2 separate regions of the Homo sapiens genome follow, and region 2 is linked to region 1. Evidence: promoter capture Hi-C in 16 types of primary human blood cells and fetal thymus (Javierre and others, 2016). All regions are on one chromosome and are shown on one strand. The core of a region is centred on a gene start or on the middle of the fragment in contact, and the rest is flanking DNA. Distances in the headings are between cores, read along the strand shown. Region 1 holds the start of MIR106AHG (miR-106a-363 cluster host gene). Region 2 holds the start of PABIR3 (PABIR family member 3).

What was found. The method cuts DNA at HindIII sites, captures the fragments that hold promoters and counts their contacts. A CHiCAGO score of 5 or more calls a contact.
Region 2: a fragment that was not itself captured here is called in contact with the fragment with the promoter of MIR106AHG in region 1 in 1 of 17 cell types (total B cells); the score reaches 6.5 in total B cells.

What each region holds. Positions count from the first base shown.
Region 1 is chrX:134,169,978-134,177,671 of GRCh38, forward strand. MIR106AHG (miR-106a-363 cluster host gene) reads right to left here and starts at 4,111. Exons shown (of 2, transcript XR_007068340.1): 1 at 1,692-4,111; 2 at 1-375. MIR18B (microRNA 18b) reads right to left here and starts at 134; the gene lies at 64-134. MIR106A (microRNA 106a) reads right to left here and starts at 301; the gene lies at 221-301. RefSeq lists an enhancer at 2,176-2,983 and a silencer at 4,942-5,236. The HindIII fragment of the contact is 10,100 bases long and covers 1-7,509 here.
Region 2 is chrX:134,803,573-134,811,266 of GRCh38, forward strand. PABIR3 (PABIR family member 3) reads left to right here and starts at 3,665. Exons shown (of 11, transcript NM_001388447.1): 1 at 3,665-3,769; 2 at 3,968-4,136. The coding sequence starts at 4,027. RefSeq lists enhancers at 4,022-4,181, 4,567-5,523 and a silencer at 7,059-7,128. The HindIII fragment of the contact is 1,289 bases long and covers 3,307-4,595 here.

The sequences.
Region 1 (7,694 bases), core at 2,861-5,360:
ATGTGTCCTATTCAAATTACTACTCAAGGCATACTTTTAAAATGCTGTATATTAGGCAGCCTGTGCCAGAAGGGGCATTTAGGGCAGTAGATTCTAAGCTGCTTCACTAACTGCACTAGATGCACCTTAACACAAGAGACACATTATAAGAAGCAGCTCAAAAGCATCAACTACTTAATTATGCACAAACTACAGTTCTCAGTAGCCATTGACTAAATCACCATGGTAATGTAAGAAGTGCTTACATTGCAGTAGATCTCAAAAAGCTACCTGCACTGTAAGCACTTTTACATGGCCAAGGCCTATTCCTGTAGCAAAATTTTAAGTCTTCCAGGAGCTCTTCTTTTCCGTCCTCACAGATCCATGCAGACTCACCTGGTTAAAACAACAAAACAAACACACACATATTAGAAACTAAACAAGTAAACTACTAGTTAATATTCCTGAAACAGGCTTTCCTTTGGCTTACAGAGTCTAAGCTAGGTTTTGTGGTTTCAACCAAATCCTGAGAAATATTAATAATCTCAATTATTTACACAGAATTGAACACGAATAACACTGGCAACTGCAAAAAGTCCAATTCTTATGTATAAGCAGATTTTGGACTCCCCCTCTCCATCTAAGAAAATTTGATATCTGCATCTCAGTAATTTGCAGGCACATTCTATCCACCCTGATTTTATAAGAGGAGGACCTAGAGAAAGGAGCATGTAAAACCCAGGATGAGTATTCGAGTCTTCAGATCATTCAGAGCTTTTGGGCTCCATACGGAAAGTGACTGTTAGATTAAATGAATATTCCCAGCCCCCACCCCATTAATAGAAAATGAGAGAAATTTTAGAGCTGGTTTAAGAAACACAGCCTTACAGTCTTCACATAATGCACAGATGGCTGAGAGATGTCACATTTTGATCTATTTCAAAGGGCTCTACTTCTGTTTAAACATTTATGGACCCATTTTCTCCATTAAACCAAAGTAGGCAGATTAGCTCTTCTTCCCTTCATGTCATTATCTTCCATAAGAAAACCTTCTCCCATTTCCAAGTGCTTATTTTACCTAAGAACATACAGCAAGGAAGTGAGCCTCTATGTGAAAAAGGCTCACAGGGTCCCCTATCTCTTCCATGATGGGGTAACTTTTGTTTAAAAGAAAAACAAAAACGTTTGGGACAGAATCTGTAATACGTTAAACGAGTGAGGGAATTTTAAATGTTGAACTTTCGTCACGATATCTTATGCCACTAAATGAGTCTTTAGAAGTCTTTACAAACTAAACTGATTTATAAAACTTATACATCAATCTGGAATCAATTTTCTATTAGGGAAGAATGGATTTAGTATAGAAATGAGAAAAATAACATTTTTCCCCTTAAATTGGGTTTCTACACCTGTGAAGATTTCTTTTCCATTAAAAAAAAAATACTCCAAACTTGACTCAAAATGCATAGTATTTGCCAACCCAACCTGGCCAAACTGAGCCCCACAGCCATCAGACAGGGCGCCCTTCTAGTTACTACCTTTTGCTAATTAGCGGTTCATCTGGCATCCCTCGCGCACGCTGGGCAGTCACTCTCCAATCCCCTTAAATTGCAAATAATAATAATAATAATAAGGAAAAGAAAGAAAGAAGTCCTTCCCTGTACGCCTTTGTGGCTCCCTTTTGCCTCTTCCCGCGTCTCTCACACCCTTACCTAATGCTCCCGTTGAAGTCCGCGAGCAGCCCGCGCGTCCAGGGTGTGCTCCAGCTGCTCACACCACGCGCTCCAGTCCTCGTGCAGCCTCAGCCGCCGCCGAAATTAAAGAGAAAGAAACAAAGCATCATGGGAAACGGAGTTCTCCATTCAAAGCACCAAAAACGCGCCAAGCCCACGCCTCCCTCCCCCTCCATTCCCGGGTTGGTGGGATAGAAGCCAAGAGGGAGGGGAGTCCCTTTTTTCCCTCCACGTGCACCCCCTCATTTCACACCCTCACCACCAAAGTTTTCCAGGAACCTAAAGGTCAACGGTGGAGAAGAAAAGGGGAGTCGTTTCCCGCGCGCTGCCCGCTACCCCTCAACCGCACTCTGGTACTTTGCTTTTCTCAAGTCCCGCCCGCTCCGTCCCCTCCCACCCAACCAGTCAACTCTACCGGATCACAGCTGCCCCAACGAAGGGCTCCCTTCTTGCCCAGCCACCCGCTCGGGAAACCGCGCGCGGGACCCAGCTCCGGCCCGCCCCTCGCAGGTGGAGAGCGCGGGGATCCCGCACGGGCCGCCCTCTCCGGGTGTCCCCTCCACACGTATACCCAGTGTCCCAGCGCGCAGCTCGAGCGCTCCGGGGCCGGGTGCGAGCGCAGTCTCCCGCGGAGCCAGAAGGGGAAGAGAAGTGAGAAAAAGCGTCCACTAAATGGATCAAGGCCGCGAGCGCACATCTCACCCCAAAGCGCCCCTGTCCAGAGCGACGCGGGGCCACGAGCCTCCCTGCCACCACTTGAGGAGCGCTCCGTCCCCTTGGCCCTCTGTCCGTAGCTATATCCCTGGGAAAAGCCCGCCCCTCTGCCTTTAATAGCCCAAGGAAAAAAGCCCGCCCCCGCCCACCCGGCCCGCACAGGAATTAGGAAACGGAACCCCCACCCCGCCAAAGCGAAAACCCCACCGAGCCCCAGTTACCCACGGGCGGACCGCAGTCGGCATTTTCCCTTCTCTCTTCCCCCAAGCTGGAGTCCTTAATTAAAGGCGCGCCTGGGACAGCGGCCCAGGCAGAGGCCGTGGCCGGAGCCGGTGCGGGTGCCACCGGCATCCGGGCCAGGATGGCGCACTCACTACCACCTTGTCCCATCTCGCTCCCGCGGCGCTCGCCTCAGCCCCCCACCGGAGACAGACGACGAGGCCCACGGAGCCGTGGGACAGGGGTGTCCCCCACCCGGCGCGCGCATGCGCGCCACCTCGCCGCTAGATTGAAAGTGTTCCTAAGGCCCGAGGAGGGAAGAAATAGAAACACGACTTACTCTCTGCACATGTGAAAGTTTTAACCCCTAGCACCTTGTGCTACTGTTGGGAGGCTTTCGCCCTTGCCAGGCGCCCTCTTCACCCACTAAATCAGGGTTTCTTGGCAGGTATCGTTAACGGTAGCAGCCACCGAATACACGCGCAAATGTGCGGAAGATACGGTGCAATTATCTTGCTTTCTCCTCTCATTCCACCGCTAATGAGAACCAATTGAGGGCGGGCTGCTTCAAGGCCAAAGCCCGACAGCGCTCTGTAGAATAAAATGATGTCTTAGTTTAAGACGCACAATCAAAATGGAATTAAGCATACCAGACTTTGAACACCGGGCAAAATGAGAGACAACCGGGCTATATACCTTCTCCGCGTCCCTGGCGGACACAGGCGCAAGATGGGATTTGGGGAGCGTGCGGGGGTTGGGGGGGTGGGCGGGGGTGTGCAGGGTACGAGGTTACAAATCAGAGACCAGTGAGCACGCTGGGTCGGAGGAGGAAAGCCCTGGAAGGCAAGCGGGGGGCAAGGAAGGAGGGAAGGGGTGCAAAATGAAGCCGGACCCCTCCCTTTCCACCATTGTTACCAGGGTGATTGTGGCAGCCCAAAGCCCAGAAGAGGACAAGGGCGCCATGTGATTCTCAACCTGGTGCACTGGTGCACAGTAGTAGCTCAGGCAAACATTACAAAAGACTGGCCTCTCCCGCCCCTGGCCCGCGAAAGAGTCCAACCTGAACTGCCAGCGCCCCTCAGGAGTCAGCGGTGGATGCAACGAAAACCACAATCATTTCTCCAACGCGAGTCACTCGCACAGGTGGGCTTCCTCCCCTTTTTCATGCAACAGACCTTGCAGCCTACCCTGGCACGTCTGCGTGATACTTTCTGGAAACTACGCAGCCCGAAGTTTACTACCCAACCAGATCCCTCCTGTGAGATTGCACCGACTGCAATGCAACTTTCGACCTTTAATGGTAACGACTAGCAGTGGAAAGAAGAGGAGGGGGAGGGAAGAGAACTTAGACCCGACTTTAAGAAGCGTTGTATTAAAGCAAGATAAGAACAGTACCTTTGAGCTGGAGCAAAACCTGGAGTAAAAAAAAGGGTTTTTGCGAAAGTGGCGCGAAGATAATATCATGTGATCCGACCCCAGGGCGTCTCCTTCCCCTTTTGCCAAACTCCCCTCCCCTCGAAAAAAGGGGGGTTGGGGGAGCTACATCCGCTCCTCACAAACTATTAGCATAATTAATTGTGTCCTACAGCTGCAGCCAGAGCTCCCGGGTCAATGAGTAAACATATCCTCATCCTCTTCAACATCAGAACAAAAAAACCCATTACCCTGATTTTGGAAAATGTTCCCAAATAAATCTCATTATCTTCAAAAGTCTTTATTTGGTATTCGGAGTCTATGTGTCTTGGTTGGAGAGACAGAAGAAGGTTGGAAAAGATGAAATCATCCTATTAAAGGGAACAAGTAGAAGTAACTCCCCAAGAGTGACATATTTAAGTAAAGGTTTTCAAATGGAAATACCGTGTTGAGGGACTTCACTAGCTTAAAATTTTCCAAAAGTTTTAGCAGTTCATTAAACAAGACATCCTCCCAGTCTTCCTATTCGCCACCCCCCATCTCCCACCCCTCCTCCCAGTCCTCCTTCCCTTTAAAGCTAGAACAATACCCGGAATAAGGTATTTTGAGATTGCTTTACCAGGATATTTTCTTGTTCTTAATTTTTTTTAAGGGTTTGCAACATATAGAATGTCTGGATCAAGTTCCCAACTGGCGAAAATAATTTATTCCATCTCAGTACCTGTCTAGCACAAGGTAAAACTAACTAAGTACAAGATATAGGTTATGAGAAACTAGGACATTTTGATACACCAAATGATTTATTTTTGTCTCTTTCTTTTGGAAAAAAAATTTAATCATCGGCCAAAATACCTAGAGAATCAAAAAAATCTAAAGAACAAAGCATTTCACACACACCCCCCCCAAAAGTCAGAATAACTAACAGCTCAAAGAAAAGCACGTGATCCCTTCATGCTTTAAAACTTGTGGTCATGCTGAGGCTAAAAGCAAAGAGCTTGTGACCCCGCAACCCCGTCCCCTCCCCCAGACCACAGCCCAGGGCTTAAGGCTCCAGGCTCCCACCGGGCTCCTGCTCGCTCCCAGTATTGTGAGACAAACAATACTTAGGCATTCTGCAAAATAAAGGAGCCACAACTCCTATCCCCCAGTCACATCATTTATGACCAAACAGACTGGCCGGTGTGCGTATATACGCATGTATGTAAATATGATATAGAATACATGCCTACACGAAAGCCCAGATGTTCTGTCAGAATGTGTAAGAAAGGTATGGAAACTGGCCAAAGGGAGGGAGAACTTGTTATCTTTCGTGAGCCTAAGGATTCTCATCACAACTTTAAATTCTTGACACTATTTTGAGTTTATGATGGATTCAAAGAAAAACGGTGAATGCCCAGCAAAATATTCCCCTCAAAATAGACCCACTTTGAGCTTTCCTCTGCCTTGAAAAGGGGTGAAGGGATTCTTCTGTATTGACCTCTAGATTTAATTATGCCATATAAAGCAGCAATCTCAAGTAGTTTGGATTTGAACACCTTTAAGAATAAAATTGACATTTTACCCAGTTGAGAAATCATGTTACTTGATTTAGAAATAATATTAAGTGGCTTTGTTAAACCTAATGATTGGTATCTTAGAACAAAAAGGTCCCCATGGAAACCAGAAAGTAATTTAAGAGTATTATGTTCCTCACACAACTAGAATAGAGCTTTTGTTCTATGTGTATTTACTACTCTACATTTTTGAACTACACTTGCAATTAAGGTCTGTTACACTCTGGTTTTGCCCAGGATGAGAAGTTTAGTGTCCCACTGAAATATGTGTTTTGCTACATTTGTGTGTTTATGTTCATGTGCTCATGTGCATGCCCATGAGGCCTAAAACAAAGCCAGCAGATCAGAACACTCACTAAACAGAATGGAGGCGGAAGATCCCAAACAAAATATTTCAAATGCTATTTTGCTATTTGATCCTAGAGCAGGAACTGTGATTTCATTAGAAGTCTATCAAAACTGGTCTTCACTAACTTTATTTTTTAAACGAAGTATTCCTTCATTTGCAAACATTTCATAGTTTTTAGATGAATCAATCTTCTTTTGAATGCCAATCATACTAACACAAATCAGCCTGAAAAAATGAAATTTGAATTTTTTGGACCAGGCCTTAATTTGTTTATGAAAATTTATGTCAGCAGAACAAAGAGAAAAATTAGAGTCAGTAATGAATTTCTGAATCTTATTTCTTTTCAATAGCATATGCCAACATAAATCATGTAAATAAAATAAATACATCTTCAACTAAATAGCGTCCATGAGAATGAAATATCAATTTCAAAAGATTTGCCACTTGATAAGAAGCAGAAAATTTCACTAATTGAACATGCACAGTTAATATAACTTAGTTTAAAAAATGTAGAAAGTAAAAATATACTTATCCCAATCTCAAAGGATTTTATGAAGACCAAATGGCACCAGAAGGTGGATCAACTTTTCTGATATACAAATACGTTTAAAATACACATTTTACTAAATTTTACTTGTAAGTAAACCTTACTTTTACAAGCTGGTCTTTGCTAACTTTGATTTTTTAGAATAAGTGTCTATTTACAAACATTTCTTATCTCTAGTAATGATTTAATCTTATTTTAAATCAAAAGAGTAATCAAATTAAAATACAATTAAATTACATCTCACATAATTCAGCTGAAATATGTTGGTACTAGAACTTACAACATGGAGCTAATTTTGCTATTATGTGATGCCTTAAAATTACCTTGTTGTGTGGGTCTTTGCTTTTCTCAGTAGTATGTTAAAACACAATTTCCTCTCACTAACAACCATATTTTTTACATGTCAAATATTTTACATCAAAATATGTGTGCAAATATTGAAAAGATATAAGAATAACCTGCTTGCCATCAGTAGAAAAATTGTTTCTCAAATTAATTCTCCCACCTTGAGAATAGACTCAGTAGACATTAAAGTGATTCACTATTAAGATTAAATAGTGTTAAAGGTATTTTTACACTCTGTTTGAAACACTTTGATTTTCCTGTTTATGTGACCTTAGAAGTGGAACTTCTGGTATTACAAACCATAAAATTGCTAGCAGACTGTAATACTATAATCAAAGAAAAAGCTGTAAACCAGAAATGTTTTACACACATCACTTTTTTCAATCACTTTTCTGATTAAGTTTGTCCATCTTTGCACCATTATAAATTTTCTAAGTGGAAAATATGTCATGGTACGGAACACAATAAAAAATATAGTTTTACATTCAAAACAGTCTCTAAAACGTCATCACCATAACATTGTCTTCCAAAGCAAGTAAATCATGGTATTAAAAATTATCTCATTATTTAATAATCTTACACCAATAAGTCTGTTATTGAAAATGTCATGATTGAGAAGTAAAAACTCTAGATGACAAATATGCTTTTAAGTTAGGAAGCTTTAAGTTATTTAATATTCTGTCTGCTATAACTAAAATAAAGCATGATAATCTTCTACTACCTATGTGCAAAGAGGGCAAAATGGTATTTTTTGGAGCCTCTCTCTTTTTTTCTCCTCAAAGATAACATTTATCCTTAGTTTGGTAGTACTCTGCTAAGCTTAGAGATTCTCTTTAACTGTC
Region 2 (7,694 bases), core at 2,701-5,200, 630 kb after region 1:
GAGGGATTTGTAAGTACTTTTAGATAGTTTCCTTTAAATTGCCTGTATTTTTCTCCCAGCTAGATTAGAAACAACAACCTCTGTTTTTGAGCAACTTAGGTATCTCTTTTTATCTCAAGGTCTCAGCAACCCTTAAGGCCAGCCCCACCTCCTACTCCCTGCTCAAAAGAAATTATAATACATTCTTTTGTTCACAATAGCTACTAAACAATCATTTGTTGACCACATGCATGCACTGACCTCAGGAGCTTAACAATTTAGGAGAACGCGAGGAGAATAATGCTACTTTGGCCATCATTTCTAGGTTTTATTAACATCATTCTTGCCTGCTAGTTTTTTTTTTTTTTTTAACCTTTCATGTAAATCTTTTGGGAAGGTTTGGGGTGTTTGTGGTTTGTAGATTTGGGTTTGACTTGTATTTGACTTGCTCTTGTGGTAACTAAAGGTTACAACGTAGCTTCAAGGTTGTCATGACAACTGGTAAAATAAAGAGCTGATTATCACATGTTTGTTGGTTCCCTTTTATAGGTGAGGGCCTGGGACAGACGCAGCAGACTGGGATATGCAAAGAGAGGAGTAGCCTAATTGTCAAGTCTAGATCTAACAAAAGCAGTGTCCCAAGATCATGGCATATTTCCCTGGAACTGGAAGGACTGATCAAGAAACACAGCTAGGTTGGTATAATAATGTGTGCGTAGAAATGGGGAGAAGTAAAAACAATTTCTTTAATGTTGTGTTTGCCATTGTAGCATATAGAATTCTTGCTGTTTTTGTATTACTTGTTCCTTTTGATATTCCAATTTGTGTATGTACTATGAGTCCTATTTATATCTTTACAGGTTTGGGGTTCCTGACATGTAGCTGTTCTTTTGTAAAAGAGAGCTCCTTCTCTTTGATAATAGCTGTAAACTTATTACCATCTCATATATTTAGTTATTTCATATTACTCCTTTTCTTAGAAACATAGTCCCTTAGTCACTCTTCCCTTGTCATTTTATTATACCTATTTTCTTAGTGTTGTTGTACTTATTTAAAAATTAGATACTTGTAATGCTTAGGCAGGATGAAATTTTGTCTATTTATTCAAAATATACGTATGAAACCTTACTACCTGCCAAGAATACTAGCAAAAGTTGAAAATTAAAATGAACACAATGGAGGTAAGATTCCCTTGTTCACTGGCCTGCTTCATATTTTTCTGTTATTCAGACAATTTGTTTTTTGACTCTGTTCTGTCTTTAATCACTGCCTTCTGCATTCATCCTGAATTTACTCAGCTTTAACCACCATCTTTTATAAACGTTCAGGTACCCTGGGAATTTTAACAGTGGCTTTTAGGACATCTTGATACTAGCCTGAATTCTCCTGCTATCTAATTATGTGCCATTAATCTCTTTGGAATTTTATCCAACTGTAAAATAGAAATGATTTACCTACTTTACAAGATAACTATGAAAGATAGGCTATTTAAACCTGCATTTATTCATAAAATAATTTCAGAAGTATTTATCAAGTGCTTATGAGTACAGAAATTCAAGGAGATATTCTGAGGCATCTCATTTTTTTTTTTACTTAAACAGAAGGGCAGAGGAATCTTGGCTTTGCCACTTAGTAGTTGCAACTTGAGTAAACCCCTCTGGGCTTTGGTTTCCTCCTGTGAAAAATGGGCATTGTGATGGTGCCTACCTCAAAGAATTATTGTAAACTTTAAATGCAATCACCTATTTAAAGTGATTAGGACAGTACCTGGCACATAGTAAGTGCCCAACAAACGGTAGCTATTACTAATCTGTCTTATATAAGGAATGGAGACTCCACATCATCCTCATGTCTGGGATTTAAGTAATCTAATTCTGCCTAATATACTCAAGTTTGTCTTATTCTATTCCCAGAATGAACAAAGAATACATATTTATTACCTTACATGTCATAACTTGTCACGAACTATCTCAAGACTGTCCCATTATTTTAAGTTCACCACTGGGTAGCTGAGCAGGGTTGATGATTGAACCAATCCAGATAAGTATGTGAAAACATTTTGTAGGCCAGGCGTGGAGGCTCATACCTGTAATCCCAGCACTTTGGGAGGCCGAGGCGGGTGGATCACCTGAGGTCGGGAGTTCGAGACCAGCCTGACCAACATGGAGAAACCCCATCTCTACTAAAAATACAAAATTAGCTGGGAGTGGTGGCACATGCCTGTAATCCCAGCTACTCTGGAGGCTGAGTCAGGAGAATCGCTTGAACCAGGGAGGTGGAGGTTGTGGTGAGCCAAGATTGCGCCATTGCACTCCAGCCTGGGCAACAAGAGCGAAACTCCGTCTCAAAAAAAAAAAAATGTTATCCGTAAAGTGCTATACCAGTGTTATGACTATTTTAATTAATAACTCCCATTTCACTAGGTTTATTTGCCTTGTCTGCCAGTTCTCTATATGGTTACTAAAATGTGTGGTTTTACAAAATTATTAGCATGGAGTTAAGATTTCAGTACTCAGTGTGGCTCATTAAGTGATGGTGAAAATTTCTAAAAGAGTAGTTCTTAAAACGATATGAGCCATGGCAGCATTCTTAGAATGTATGTAGCTTCTAATACTACCTGAAATGAAAACACTGATTTGCATTGATACTAAATTCTGAGATATTTGTTTTTAAAAAAGCCTCACTGCTTTAACTCAAATCTTTGTAAATTAGCTGAGGTCTTTATTTTTTATATGAATAGCTGTGAGGAGCCAGATTATATATAATGTAAAAATACACACTGAGGCAGGCGCGGTGGCTCACGCCTGTAATCCCAGCACTTTGGGAGGACGAGGCGGGCGGATCACCTGAGGTCCAGGAGTTCGAGACCAGCCTGGCCAACATGGTGAAACCCCGTCTCTACTAAAATACAAAAATTAACCAGGCGTGGTGGCGAGCACCTGTAATCCCAGCTACTCGGGAGGCTGAGGCAGGAGAATCGCTTGAACCTGGGAGGTGGAGGTTGCAGTGAGCCGAGATCGCGGCCACTGCACTCCAGCCTGAGCAACAAGAGCGAAATTCCATCTCAAAAAAAAAAAAACAAAAAACTGTACGATTATGGTTTAAAAAAGAAAGAAAGAAACCACACTGAAAACAGTAATTCGTTTGCCAAATGAGCTCAGTTAGGTTAGCACCTTAGCAAGACCCTTTGGGACCAAGTGGCCTCTAAGCACTTAGGTAGCAGTATCTTTTTTTTTTTTTTTTTTTCAGACTTTTGCTTTTCTAAAATTACAAAGGTGTAGTGTGTCTGCTGTTACAGGATGGAAAAATGCATCATAGGAGGTTAGAAGCTTGTTGGCCTCAGTCATAAAGGGATAAGAAAAATGAGAATTAGGCATAGGGCAGGAAGGACCTCACTCCTCCCAACGCTTTCATTTCTAAATAATGCTTAAGGAAACCATGCCAGGGTTAGTAAAAGAGTAGAGGCACAACCACGGTAAGTGGGCATTGGGGAAAGAGGAAGGAGGGCAGGACATGGGGATAAAGCGGTTTCTTAACTGCGCGTGCGCCCCTGGCAAAGCTGACTAAGGCGCCTGAAGTGACGTCATTGCCTGCATCACAACAGGCGTCGTCCGGCTGATAGCTTATCGCAGGCTCTGAGGGGCGGGACCCAACTGATTGTCAAAGGCGGCAGATTGTAGTTTTTGTTTTGGCCGGAAAGGCTTACCATGAGTTGCCAGGGCTGAGAGAGATGGAGAAGGATTCGCGGCGGTGACAGATTAAATTCCCCAGTTACATTATAGACTTGGAGGTGGGGGATCTTCTCATCGTTAGAGGCCCCGATCATGGGAGATAGGCGGTTCGGAGCCAGTTCTGCCTAACTTTGTGTTCACTGATGTTAGGGCTGCTAGGGCTGCAAAGGTGGGCACCCCTACTCGCCTAAGAGCTTTCTCCTCTCTTCTCTTTTTCCCCTTTGCCTCTCTCCTTACATCACCTGCCCACTAAGTAGACTTGTCCTTGTGTGGACGGGAGCCGGAAAGCCTTGAGAACTTATTCCTCGACCCGGACATGGCACAGGAGAAAATGAAACTAGGTTTCAAGTCGCTGCCGAGTTCCACTACCGCAGACGGCAACATTCTGAGAAGAGTCAACAGTGCCCCTTTGATCAATGGACTTGGGTGAGCCGGGTTGAGATACTGGAGGAGGCAAGCGGTGGGGAGGAGGTGTTCGGGAAAGTGATTTCCTATAGAATTCCCGTCCCTTTATTTGTTGAGGTTCTGCAGGTAACTCCCTTGTTCCTGGTGTCCGGAGATCCCACCCTCAACCTTGGGTGGGGGTAGTGGGACGGGCTGACCTGAGGGGGAGCGCGCACCCACCCTGAGGTTGACAAACATCTGAATCTGAACATCCTCCCCTGATAGTCCACTCGGACCCGAAAGTAGCAGCCAGTTGGTGTGGAGCACGGCTTTTTTCTAACTTCAACCCATTTCTTACCCACTCCTTTGAAGAAACTTAGTATCCTCCCCCACTCACCTCCAGATCTTCTGCCATGACTGTAATATTTGTCATTTCAGCTGCTTTGTCACCTCTGACCTTCACCTCCAGCCGCTTGAATGGAAATGGTTGTCAAGCAAATAAGCTTTGGACTTTTTTACATTTTTTTTTTTGTCTTTTTTTGAGACGGAGTCTTGCTCTGTCGCCCAGGCTGGAGTGCATTGGCACGATCTCAGCTTACTGTAACCTCCGCCTCCTGGCTTCAAGCAATTCTCATGCCTCAGCCTCCCTAGTAGCTAGGATTACAGGCGCCCACCACCACACCTGGTAATTTTTTGTATTTTTATTTTTTATTTATTTGTTTATTTATTTTTGAGACGGAGTCTCACTCTGTCGCCCAGGCTGGAGTGCAGTGGCGTGATCTCGGCTCACTGCAAGCTCCACCTCCCGGGTTCACGCCATTCTCCTGACTCAGCCTCCCAAGTAGCTGGGACTACAGGCGCCCACCAACACTCCCGGCTAATTTTTTGTATTTTTAGTAGAGACAGGGTTTCACCGTGTTAGTCAGGATGGTCTTGATCTCCTGACCTCGTGATCCGCCCGCCTCGGCCTCCCAAAGTGCTGGGATTACAGGCGTAAGCCACCGTGCCCGGCCTAATTTTTTGTATTTTTAGTAGAGACAGGGTTTCACCATGTTGGCCAGGCTGGTCTCGAACTCCTGGCCTCAGGGGATCCGCCTGCCTCAGCCTCCCAAAGTGCTGGTATTACAGACGTGAGCCACTGCTCCTGGCCTACACCTATTTTTTATTGGAGCAGAAAGTTTTGGTACCACAGAAGCTTGATCTCCTAAATTACACATTCTCACTGGGTGATACTTCCCCCAAGGGGAAGAGAAAATAGTTCTTGGGGGAGTGTGAAAAATTTTTACTCTTTTTATGTATAAAGCGCAGATATACATACAGTATGTACACAGATATATACTATATATGTGTTATTAAAATTTCACGAAGGGGGAGCAATTAGGGGAAAAATGTCTAAAAAGGCTTTTTAGAGGGTCAATAATGAAAAAAGGATTTAGAAACACTACACTAAATGATGGTTAACTGTATTTCTGAAGATCTGGGATTACTAAATCTTGTTTCCTTTTTTTTTTTTTTTTAAGACGGAGTCTCACTGTGTCGCCCAGGCTGGAGTGCAGTGGCATGATCTCGGCTCACTGCAACCTCTGCCTCCCGGGTTCAAGCGATTCTCCTGCCTCAGACTCCCGAGTAGCTGGGACTTCAGGCACCCGCCACCACGCCCACCTAATTTTTTGTATTTTTAGTAGAGACGGGGTTTCACCGTGTTAGCCAGGATGGTCTTGATCTCCTGACCTTGTGATCCGCCCACCTTGGCCTCCCAAAGTGTTGGGATTACAGGCGTGAGCCACTGCGCCTGGCCTAAATCTTACTTCTTAAACTAGACTTTTAAAATGAGATGTTGGATTTCACATTTCAGTATTATAAGGTTTTCTAGATACCGTAAAAATGTCTGAAAAATGCATTCACTACATATGTTACTAACTTTGCTCTTCACCTTTTGTTGCATCATACTAATTGATAGTTGTAATTCACAGTACCATAGACTATCAGGAAGGGATTCAGAGACCAGCTTTACCCTCCTTGTTTAACATATGAGGAAACTGAGGCCCATAAATCTCCAAAATGACGTTTAGTGGCAGAGCCAGTACTAGGAAGCTCTGTTTCCTGACTCCTAAACTACTGTTCTGGCCACTACTAACCAATACCTAAGCTGATTAACTCTAAATGAATGCAGCTTTTGGGTCATTTGAGGTAGGAGAGAATATATTGTTCACAAAATGAAAAGCAAACTAAGATTGACCAAAAAAAAATACATTACCTTTTTAAAATAGGCAGGTAGAAAAACATAGAAGGGGGACTCTGCATGTTGTGCTGAGAACAAGAACATTTTATTCACTCAGGATTTTGCTCTAATTCTGTTGTGGGAAAAAGGAATTATGGGACCCACTCTACTAGTAGAAGAGAGCAGTAGGGAGAATGTTGGATTTATTGAAGACAATATAAAAAGAAGAAATAGGTTGCAAATAGACGATGGAAGATGTGTACTGGAAGGAACCTGTGGATCCTCTTTAATGTATTAAATACACCAGAGAAGGAGTGGACCCTTCCCTAATCCTTAAAGCCCTGGAAACAGAGAGATCTCAGTTATCCCTTCATACCTTGCTTTGTTCTGCAAAGGATTTTTTTGTTTTGTTTGTTTGTTTTTTGCTTATATTAGAGCATAGCTACAGTGTTACATTCCATAGCTTAAGATCCTGATGCATGAAGTAAAATTTGTACAGAAAGATAAGGGTCACTAGCATATTTCTGTAGTAGGAGTTTAAAGATACAGAAACCACAAAGTGGACGGAGTCCAGGGACTCTAGTCTGTCAGAAAGAAGTAACATAGGAATGATGTGTGACATCCCTGAGATTAGGGGACTTGCCCAGATGATCTGAGGGCATATTTTGTGCTGTTGTAGAAAATGTAGGGCATAGTCAGAGAAGTTATTCTGAAGCAAGAAAAATTTAGAGTAGGATTACACTGAGCCTTAGTTGAATTCATTTTCACCTCAGTTCTCATTTGCATATGTATACTGCTCACTTTTCTCCCTTTTTTTTTCCTTCCTTGGCCCTCTAATACTTGAGTACTTCCTCTTTCTAAACTATACCTGGCCAGTAAAGCATTCTTTTCAGAAAGGTGAAAGTCACTAGCATATTTCTTTAGTAGGAATTAAAGATATAGAAACCACAAAGTGGACAGAGTTCAGAGACTCCAGTCCCTCAGAAAGAAGTAACATAGGAATGATGTGTGACATGCCTGAGGTCAGGGAACTTGCCCAAATGATCTGAGGGGATGTTTTGTGCTGTTGTAGAAAATATTTAGCTTGCTAAACATTGTTGCACCTCTTTCAAGTAATTTTCGAACTTTGCTTGATGTTTCTTCTATATAAAGACCCTCTTGCACCAGCATTTGCAGAATTAAATTCCTTAGGTTTGTTTCTTTCATATCAACTCTTTAATACAGTATTACTGTTTTAAAGAAGTATCTGCACTGTTTTATGTATATCTTGAACTAATAAAAATTCCAACGTCAAAAGTTTTGAACCTCTTGGTTCTTTATACTCTTTATCTCTGTAATTGGCTGACTTTATTACTGGTGTCAATAACTATACTTAAAGC